Linked DNA regions of Homo sapiens: region 1 is linked to region 2. Evidence: promoter capture Hi-C in 16 types of primary human blood cells and fetal thymus (Javierre and others, 2016). All regions are on one chromosome and are shown on one strand. The core of a region is centred on a gene start or on the middle of the fragment in contact, and the rest is flanking DNA. Distances in the headings are between cores, read along the strand shown.

Region 1 (5,557 bases), core at 1,257-3,756, 88 kb after region 2:
TAAAACTTGACAACTGCTAGTTTCTTAAGGATTAGCTGTAATGTAGAATCTGAAATCATATCAATGAATCTTTCATACTGTTAGATTAAAATCAGGCACTTGCAGTGTAACTGTCTTATACTTTGAATCTTTTACCCATGCATGATTGTATAACATCATGCACTGGCCATTTAGAGAATATTGGTTCACTGAGTTATGAAGATCTTCCCAAAGGTTAATACATTTTATTATACAACTGTCAAAAAAATCACATATATTATTCTCACTATCTATCTTACCAAAAAGGTCTGTAAGCATGGGGAAGCAGCTCCCCATACTTCGGTTCCTGATGGCAAATATAGTTTCCAAAATTCTGAGTTTGGCTTAAAATATAATCATTGGCAACAATGCCATCAGTAGTGTTCCCTGAAATAACAAACAGGCTTATTTAGTTCACTTTTGAGAAAATGTCTGCCAAATATACAAGTCTAACTAACCATAGTTTTTCTGTCAGTTTTTCTTCCAAGCAAAAATGGTGTGCATAGCAAAAGTTACTGGTTCAGCCTGCAACTCAGCAATCACACTAATACTTTTCCTTGAGATAACCCTGGTAATTTGGTATGTAGCAAACGTGATGTATGTGGACTCCTCACCTCATCACACAGAACATTAAAAAAAGCATGTACTTACTTCAAGGTGAGATGTAATAAGAATAGTAAGTGTTACTGCTTTAACAGGGACCTTCTTGTAGTGTGACTGCCATACTTATTTACTGTGAATGCATGCGTGATGGTGAATAATACAATGATTGCTAATAAAGCTTGGTGCCACAGCCCTGATTCTTACTAAGGTGCTAGCAGCTTTATCCACCATTTCTTTTGTACCATCAGTGCAAATATAAACACAGTAAAAAAGACAAGTAACATCTCATGAAAATAGTTTTTACCTTGCAGATCCCCTGAAAGGGCCTTGGGGATGTTTGGGGTCCACTACACTTTGGGAACTTGTACGTTAGCACTTCCACGACAATTTAATAATGATGATAAGATTTCCTTTTCTTGACTTAATGTCAGTGGAACTAATAAGTAAATACAAATCCTGAGGTTCAATCTAATTATTTCTTCATTTGTAAATATTAGACAATGATTCTGCAGCTTCAGACCCTGATGCTGAAACCACTGCCAGGACCAATGGGAAAGGAAATCCAGGTGAGCAGTCGCCGAGCCCTGAGCAGTTCATAAACAACGCAGGAGCAGGGGACTCCAGCCGCTCAACTCTTCAGAGGTACTCGAAGCTGATTCATATTTTCACTGCATTTTGCCTTTATATTAATCTAGACGCCAATTTCAGGGATCTTTTTTTTTTCTTGCCTTAGAAACAGAACTGGCAGGAGTAAAGTCTCACATTTTAATCCCAGCCTTCTACTTTATCTTTATATAAATGCTACCTCCTGAATCTTTTTCACTGCATTCTTACTGAGTTAATGTGAGAATATATTAATAGGAGAGTTTAATTTTCATTTCTCGTTCCATTCTTCTCCCTCCTACATATAAGTTTGTTATGAGGAATTAGCTTTACAAATACTATCTTTTGATTCAGAGAGTATGATTTTTCCCCCTTTTCCGACTGCTGAAGCTTATAATACCCTGTCCGGAAGTGACAGTGCCACACATAGTGCTCTGATACTGAGTAGGTGCAAAGGAAAAAGCAGTACTTGGTGTTTATTCTAAAGCTGAATGTGGCTGTTCCTTCTTTTTATTTTATTTTTCTGCTCCTTCTTCTAAGGCATGGGCCTCCTTATTCCAAGGATTACATGGACTTTAGTCCGTGTAGTACTTTCTAACTAATATTAACTGTTGATTATAGGGCAGTACTGATTTTCAGCAGATGTCCATCCCTTTGACTGATAAAATAGTTCTGGAGAAATTAGTTCTACCAGAGAAAGAATTGCTATCATCATCCCACCATTATTATTATTCTTTTAGCTTTATATTATTATAGTTACTTTTGCGAGAGGACTCTAAAATTGCACTCAAGAAGAGATAGGCCAACAGGACTTCCACTGAGGATGCAGTTTCTTATCAAACAGATGTTCTTCTCCTTTGGTTCAACAAAATATGCACTATATAGCATAGAGTTATAGTGTTTATTGGATTTAAATGCAGAATTTGATTTGCTGTTATGGGAAAGGAGCTATGCTACATACTAATCTGTGATTTAGCATATGAGTCTTAATATTTCCTAAGAAAGTAACCATCTTCTTATTCCAGTAAGGATATTTCACTGCTTGCCATTTTGTTCATAACACCTAGTCTTGTTATTACTTTGATTCATGTTTTTACCACATTTTCCCTATAATATTAAGATGGTGACCAGTTTCAGTGATTGAATGACCTTAGAATTAGAACTGTTAGTGGTAGTGGTTAGCTTCCTCATTTTAATCCCAGCTCTTCCTCTGCCTCATTCTATGAATGCCACCAAATCTAAAGCCTCGTCAACCTCAATGTTGTAACCTATAAAACTGGAGTAAGTACAGAGAGCTATGTAAGTATTAAGACTCAATACCATAGCAGATATGTCACTGACTACGTATATGAAATATATAAAGCATTATTGTTACTTTATATTACTTACACGTAGAAAGAAATGTCTTTCCTTTTTCCTGTCCTACCAACCATATTCTTCCCTCTTTCGCTCTACTGGATTCACAGTTCCCCTCTTTCTCCCTCTGATGCTGCCCTTGTGGCTAGAGGCAGCATGTGCCCTTCAGTCCCTACCCCCTCAGCCATGTAATGCACTGACACGCATTGTCTGAAGGTGAGTGTGGACATGTGGGTCTCCTCTGTGGGGTCCAGTGTAGTAGAAGAGAAAATCCACAGGATCCTGCATTCAGAGGCAGAACTGAGACACCACGTCCATTTTCCTTTGCCTTTGAAGCGTCCTTTGAAAAGACATTGAGCACTCACCTCACTATTCTGAAGAGACACGTTCGACCTTTAAGCCACCAACCTCTGACTAGTTTCTGCTGACCTACTTTTTCACTTGCAGTGTCATCAGTGGTGTTGGGGAACTGGATCTAGACAAAGGGCCAGTGAAGAAAGCAGAGCCCCATACCAAAGACAAACCTTATCCTGACTGCCCCTTCCTGCTGCTAGATGTGCGTGATAGAGATTCTTACCAGCAGTGCCACATTGTTGGAGGTAAGAGAGAGAAGGCTTTAAAGTGCCTCACTCTCAAGAACAGAGAGCCTGCTCTTGAGTCTAGGCAGGCTGGAACCACAGCCCATGGTAGACAGTTGAGGAAACCGTATGTTAGCTGGATCCATTATGGAATCCTATAGGGTTGGCTCCACCATAAAATACTCTTGAGAGGCTGCTGATTTTCACAGATGGCTGTCAGAAGCAGGGAAGTGAAGCTTCATGCTTTGTTCATAGTGCTCTTTCTTTTCTTTCACAGAAGTGTTTAGGTTTATGGCTTGTTGATTTTTTTTTTTGTTTTTTTTTTGTTAATACCTTGCTCTGTTGCCAAGACTGAAGTGTAGTGGCGCGATCACAGCTCACTGCAGCCTTGCCTTCCTGGGCTCAAGTGATCCTCCTACCTCAGCCTCTCGAGTACCTGGGACTACAGGCATATGCCACAACACCCGGCTAATGTTTTTGTATTTTTTATAGAGATGAGGCCTCACCATGTTGCCCGGGCTGGTCTCAAACTCCTGGACTCAAGCGGTCCACCCACCTTGGCCTCCCAAAGTGCTGGGATTATAGGTGTTAGCCACCATGCCCAGCAGCTCATGGATTTTGAAGATGTATTTAACTCTTAGATTTTAAACCAGCTGGGAATTGAGGCCAAGTTGTATTAAGAGAACAACAGACTTCCTAAACTTTTTCTTCTCTTTGCAGCTTACAGTTACCCAATTGCAACTCTGTCTAGAACAATGAACCCTTATTCAAATGATATTCTTGAATATGTATCCTTTGTTGCATTTTAAGGAATTGGGTGGTATGAGGATTGTAAGAATCAAAGTTATCATGAACCACGCTCCTGGTAAGAATGCTGTGAAGGACCTTTGATATTATTTGGCTGAGCATATTTTAGAATTTGGATTCCTAGCTATTGCCAAGAATCCTGACTCTTTAGGCGGATGCTTTCAAACCGTCTTGCCCTGGGCCAAAAAACACTAGGTTAAGAGTTAGGATCCATTGAGAGTTAGTCCTAAGAGAGTTTTTTTCCTCCCAGAAAACTTTCCATAGCAGAACTTAGGGTTTTTTTCTATTTTAATTTTTTCCTTTAAAATTTTAATTTTTTCATTGATAAAAATTATACAAGCAGAAAATAATTTAAATACCAAAAATTATTAAAAGGAAAATTGAAATATCTTATAATCACACAGTTGAGCAGTGGCTTCTATTACATTATTAGTATATTTTATTCCAGACTGTCTTCTGTGTGTTTGTTTTTTTTTAACAAAGTTGAAACCTTACTATATATGTAATTTAGTATCCTGCTTTTTTTCAGTTCATATCCCGATGTATTTCCCCATGCTGATGCAAGCCTTCTGTAAACCACATTTTTGATGCTGTGTAATATCTTCAGATTTACTATGATTTACTAAAATATTCCTTTATTTTGGACTTTTTAGATGGCTCCCACATTTTTACTGTCATAAATAGGCTTCAGTGGACACATTAGGCATAGAAGTTGTTCTATTTCTTCATCTGTAAAATGGGGATTGTAATATTTACTTTCCAGGGTCATAGGGATAAGAGAGCTAAAGGATGTAAAGTCCGGAACTAGTGCTGTCTTTTAGATCATGGTAACATCAGTTTGCAAAAGAAACGAATACCAGCTTGTGTGGTTTCCATGATGGGAAACCATCCAGTCCCTGCTGGTGTGACGGTAGGAATGGGCTTGTCCATCGTTCCCGGGAACTCAGACAGGTGGACCTGACCTTTTATTCCTTGGGGGTTTCTCGTAGTCTTGGGACATCAGCCCAGTGCCTTGGAACCTTAACTCATCTGACTCTTAGAAAAATGCCCATGGCAAGATCATCATTCTGTATGACGATGATGAAAGGCTGGCCAGTCAGGCGGCCACCACCATGTGCGAGCGTGGATTTGAAAACCTCTTCATGCTTTCCGGAGGTGAGCAAGGTGATACTCTGCTTGGGACTTCAAAGGCTGATCATCCTTCAGTCCCACCTGCATCCCCTTTTCTCTCTTGGTGCTCAGAATTCAGTGTTCTGGAAAGAGAAAAAGCCATGCTGGCTGAAAGGAGTCAGGAGTTATGTGAAACTTCCCTTAGCTTCATCAGCACATGTTTTTAATTCCTGATGTTGCTTCAGGGCTCTGTCACAAAGCCCTAATGCTGAAGACTCGAGCAAAAGGATTTCTTGTGGAATTCTCAGAATCCCATGTAACAACAGATATTTTCTGGTATAATTTGCTTAATGATGAAATAGTTAAGAAAGATTTCATGTCCTTGTGTTGGCCTCAACTTGATGACCAGAGATTAGAAGACATGCAGGCTTCTTTCCAGGTTTTGGCCTGGCCTTGCCATATTAATGCAGCTTTTTCTGATG
Region 2 (5,427 bases), core at 2,404-4,903:
TTTTCTTAGCAGACTCTTTAAGTTTCCATTTAATTTCCTAAGATGCTCCCCCACCCCCAGATAAGGCATAACTCATACCCAGCGTGTGAGAATTGATTTTGTCTTTGGAAAAAGAGCACTGGTTGGTACACCCAACCCTCCCATGCCCAGGACTTCAAAGGCACAAGTCAGTTTATCCACATTGACAAGGAGTGCCAAACAGGAATTATAAACCGTTCTGTTTCAAGTCTATGACTTCTGATGGTCAACAGATCAAGAATTGTCAGTAGAATGGAAGTTCTCTCAAAACAGCCAGAATGGAAATAATACCCTCCAAAACTAAAATTAGAGTTGTCATAGAGCTGAAATAAATTAATTGCTAAAGCCCTGGGGGAAATGGCTTTCCGTCTGTACACACATTCTTCCCTATTGCCTGTAATCTACCTACCCGTTCGCTAACTTCCTCAACTTACAAGATACTTTTCCCCCCCATATCCCTGATACTTTTTGCTAAAATCTAAAAACAAGCCTGTGGTTTTACAGTGGTAAAATAACCATGTTTCTTAAACAATGTCAGCTCCCCAGGCTATTTTTTAGGCATTATTAGGGCAGTCATTTCTTTTTTTCTCCAAAGTACCTGTCCATAAGACGGATAGAACCATTTGGTCCTACTTCTCAAGGTAATACTAGAAATGGTTCAAAAAAGTGCCAGAACATGATGGTTATATCACAGTTTTCACCCAACAATAGCAGGCTGTATCCCAGTATCTCCTTGAAAGGTCAGATGACAAAAACCATTAGGTTTTGACGATCATTTGCCCAGCCCTATCTGTCCTGTACTTCAATGTATACATTTTCATGTGCAGATTTCATTACTCCTTTCCCCCAGTGCTTCTCATCGCATTCATCCCCGGGGTTCCAGCAGCTGAATCTCTGCAGTGACTCAGCAGAGAGCCCCGGGAGGGGCGGCCAGAGCGGCAAATGGGGAGGCTTCCCCGCCGCTGCTCAGGGAAAGTGGGGGGTTAAAAAACGAGGCTATCGACCAACATACTCCACTCCTGGACACCCCCCTCCACACCCTCCTCCTCTTACTCCAAGAAAGCAAAGAGGCAACCTCTCAGGGGGCCATTTTTTGTCTTATTACCTCAGTAAAAATGCCCCCATGAACTTTTAGGATTTTTAGAAGTGAAGCAACCTAGCCGTCAGTAGGCAAAATGGGTTAAGCAAACATTTTTTGGCCAAAATCCCAACTATTTGATGAGCCATGAGCGGAGACAATAAGCAAACTCCAGTAACAAACTTTCCAAAAATTTCTGAGCCTTGATTTCTTCATCTTGTAAACAGAAAAACACACTCCCGTAATAATACCACCCAACCTGCCGCCCACCTGATGGCGTCGCCGCGAGACGAACCACTTTGAAAACCCGCGAAACCAAGGTGAACAATCCCTGCGCAACATGACAGTTTGGTCACATCGCCGTTCTCACTCGCGCTTGTTACTGAAATCTGAAAAATACTTAAGGCGGCTGACGGGCACTGCGAGTTCTAGTCACTGCGGTGACTCCCGCCACCGTGATACCTGGGTCTTGAAATCCTAAGCTGCACCGCGGCGATCTCGGCACTGCGATTATCCCGTTCTTGAAATCCTAAGGTGCGCCACGGAGACACCGGGGTTCTAAAAATCCTACATCGCACCAGGGCGATGCTGGGGCCTATCCTTTAAGTCGCACCAGAGCGATGCTGGGGTTCTAAAAATCCTACATCGCACCAGGGCTTTGCCGGGATCTATAAATCCTAAATCGCGCCACGGCAACGGCGGAGTCTAAGAATCCTGAATCGCACCAGAGGGAAGCCGGAGTCTAAATATCCTAAATCAAACCAGGGCGATGCTGGGGGTTAGAAATCCTAAATCATGCTGCAGCAATGACTGAGTATAAAAATCCTAAATCGCACCAGGGTGATGCCAGGATCTAAAAATCCCAATTCGCATCAGGGTGAGACCAGGGTCATTATGGATCCTAAGTCATATCAAGATGACGCTGGGGTCCAGAAATCCTAAATCTCACCACGACGATCCCGGGGTCTAGAAATCCTAACCCAAGGAGGTCCCGCGTTCTGAACATTCCATTGCGGGCAGGAGTGACACCCCCTCCTCAAGTAGGCAGAGCGGGCGCGGAATGCGTGCCGCCTGTCGGTAGAGTTTTCGCCCAGAGGCAGCCCCAGCTCGGACACGGGCACACAGTCCTCCGCTCGCCTGCGCCCTAGTCCCAGGGCCGCCAGCCACACCCCCTCGTTCCCACCGCACACTCACCTGCGGAGGCGATCTCGGCGCACCATGGCCGCGTTATCCCATGCCGCCCGCCGCAGCGTTGCAGAGCACCGGGCGCCGCAGAGCCCGCAGCCGTGCAGAGCTGGCCAGCAGCGGGGGCGCAGCCCGCAGCCCACAGCCCGCGCAGGGCGGCGCCGCGCCGGGCAGCTACAGCCACTCCGGCGTGCGCTGCGGCACTGCGCTTGCGAGGCGCAGCTGCCGCAGAGGAGGTGCCGGGGTGTGCTGGTTGCCGCGGCAGCGCGGAGCGAGTGGGCACCGACTTTTAGAGCCCACCCGCGCCCCGCCCCTAGCCCGCCCATCGCCGCAGAACCCCTACCGCCTGCTCCCTTGCTCGCCGCAGAGCCCCTCCCAGCCGCTCTACCACCGCCATGGCCACAAAGATGGGGTGCCCCTCTAACAGTGGCTCCTTTAGGGGGCACCTTCAGGGGTGTCGAGCCCCCTCCCCAAGACCCCGCTGCTCCCTCGTTAACCGCCAACCCTGAGCCCGAGATTCTGCTGCAGAAACCCTCCCCTGATGAGTTAAGGCCACGGGCAAAAACAGCAGACCCCTGAGTGCCCCAACTCTTTCCTTAGACCACCCACAAACCCCACAGGCCGCCCACAAACCCCACAGGCTGCCCACAAGCCCCACAGGAGGATGGCCGCTCGAACTAAGGGGCAGCAGGGCTCTGGGGTGCCGGCCGTGGCGCCTGCTCCCATCCCTCGTTCGAAGCGTGGGTACTGAACCGTGAGAGGTGGCGAGCCACGAGGGCCCTATGCGCCCTAAGCTTAACTACCGGTAACCACCAAGGGCACGAGCAAGCGGCTAGGGAGCAACAAGCTCTGTTGGACCCACCACCAAGCTAGTAAACAGATTCATGGGATGGCCACTATGGCCAAAGTTGCACAAAGTCCGGTTTCTCCCGCTCCAGCCACCGCCGCTGCGCGGGGCAGGTTTCCTTTACAGCAGCGCGACGTGGTCAGCATGCCAGACGCCTGGCCACAGCAGCGCCCTCGCAGCCCCGCTCGCTGCATGCGCCGGTCCGCGCTGCACAGAACAGTGGGCACAATTAGGAGAGCAAAGCCCCCTTTATTTACGTAAGATAGAATCACAATGCAAGGGCCCAGAGGCACAAGAAAGAGGGAGGAATTTTTCTAATCCATAATCCTTTAAAAGGCATCCCTTACGCCTTTGAAAAGTGTAGAGTATCACGAAGTGTCTGTGTTCATTTTCTGACCGTAAACTGAAATACTGGTGAACAAACGTGGGGTGCGAGCGGGTGAGCGGGGCGGCCGGCCGGTGCCCGCTGCATCCAGAGGGGGCGCTGCAGGCCTCCCTTCGGCTGCGCACGGCCCGGGCCCTCCGCGGCTCTGCAACTCTGCACCCCGAAAGGTTCGGTGCTGGACCGCGGGGCATCCAACCCGGGACCGGGGGCGACCCACGGACACTGAGGAAACTACCGCCTATAAGCCTATCATCAGAACCTCTGGCACAACACAGGTACACTTCTGCAGGGGTCTGGTTGCCCCCAGAAAAAGCACTCATGAAACAAATGCTGATTTAGCACCTACAGGGCACTAAGAACCGGGGGTGCGAAATAAATGAGAAATAGCCCCGGCCCGAAAACAACACACGGGCCATCTGGAGGGGAAGACAGACAAGAACTGCCACTTTGTAAAATTTTCCTTTTAATTTCCTAGCGACGTTTGTGGCAGTTGACCCACTCCTCCCTAACGTGTAAGGCCCTCAGAGGCAGAGCCCAAGTATTATTCACCTTTTGTAGCCCCAGAGCCCGCCACGGTGCCGGCCACAAAGCTGGCCCCTAATAAATACTGCTTGAATGAGTACAAGAATTTGAGGGCGCACAGGGGAGGAAGTAATTAAGGGGAGGGGCGAAGGGTGGTCTTGAATGATGAATAGACATTTACCAGAGAGACAAAGAACATTCCAGCCGGAGGGGACGGCTTTCGCAAAGCACCGGAGGCTCAGGGCCGCGTGTTTGGGGAAAACGGTTAGTCCTTTGAGCCGGCAAAAAATTAGGATAGCAAGAGAATTTCATCGTAGGGAATTAGGAATTTGTTCTAGAGAAAATGAGAAGCCACAGATGGATTTAAACTCTTTATGGCCTTAATTGGTTACTTAACAAAATTTAAATTAGTCTCTTTACAAGTCAAAGATTACCTATTTTAACTACCACTACCTTTTAAAGACTGAATTACTCTGCAAAATCTAAATCGGTTCTTCCAAAAAGGTAAAGGCTTTCCTATTTTAATAATAACAATAACAAAAGCCTTTGCATTATATATTTTTCATATTTATTGTTAATGGAAACTTTGAGTCCTACAAACAAATTCCACACTTTCATTCTCACCAGGCCAGAAACACCAGCATCCAAGATGAAGGCAATTTTCTGTTTATGGACTGAGTACCCCACAAAAGATCTTATTCTGAAGGCCATGGAACATGTCTACCCACATGGATCAAGTGGGCAGACTGGAGGAGAAACAGTTTAAAGGCCCTGGGGGAAGGAGGGAGCGCCAGGGAGAGCTCCTGAAGACAACAGGAATTCCAAGTCTGGCACTCGGGAGAAATCCTCCCTTCAGACATTATTGATGTCTGGCCGAGGAGTTAGGAAAAACTTCCTTGAAGGAGGGATTGAGGTTGAGATGGGCATGGAACCCAGATCTTAGGCAGAGAAAGCATATTCCTGTTTGGAAGAACCCTGAGTACAGAAGTCAGCTCAAAGATATCAGCTTGGCCCAACCAGGAATTCGCTGTGGGAAGTCTAAGAGAGAAAATGCTGGCCATAATCCCCCAGGAGCCAAAGAGTTAACGAATCTTCTAAATGTGCCTGATTTACTTCCAGAAAGGAGCTTCCTCCGCAGGGGGAGAATTTGACCCAAGGTATAAAACACTTGGAGCCCTGAGAAAACACACAGCCACACATAAATTCAAAGTCGGCTCTGGCTTGCTCGAAGTTGCACCCTTTCAGTTCCTCTGGACAGATGCTATCCTGGACTGTGCAGGATATCTCATGCAGTAGTACTCCCTCAGCCAGTGGCTTATCACACATTCTTGTCACATTCCAAGTCTAACACAGTTCCGCCTCATGATAAGACCTCAGATCTGTGCAAAAATT

The links. Contacts are between HindIII fragments. The CHiCAGO score rates a contact against its expected background, and 5 or more counts as called.
Region 1: a contact is called between a fragment that was not itself captured here and the fragment with the promoter of MESTIT1 in region 2, in 1 of 17 cell types (megakaryocytes). The highest score is 5.5, in megakaryocytes.

The regions. Positions count from the first base shown.
Region 1 is chr7:130,400,270-130,405,826 of GRCh38, reverse strand. CEP41 (centrosomal protein 41) reads left to right here. Exons shown (of 11, transcript NM_018718.3): 6 at 1,119-1,263; 7 at 3,028-3,179; 8 at 3,879-3,946; 9 at 5,006-5,120. Among named protein-coding and RNA genes, the nearest start is that of CPA1, 23 kb to the right of the region's middle. The HindIII fragment of the contact is 1,780 bases long and covers 1,617-3,396 here.
Region 2 is chr7:130,489,203-130,494,629 of GRCh38, reverse strand. It overlaps MESTIT1 (MEST intronic transcript 1, antisense RNA), which reads left to right and starts at 3,653. Exons shown (of 2, transcript NR_004382.2): 1 at 3,653-3,788; 2 at 4,663-5,427. MEST (mesoderm specific transcript) reads right to left here and starts at 2,545. Exons shown (of 12, transcript NM_002402.4): 1 at 2,291-2,545. The coding sequence starts at 2,316. RefSeq lists a silencer at 3,508-3,717. The HindIII fragment of the contact is 7,997 bases long and covers 3,078-5,427 here.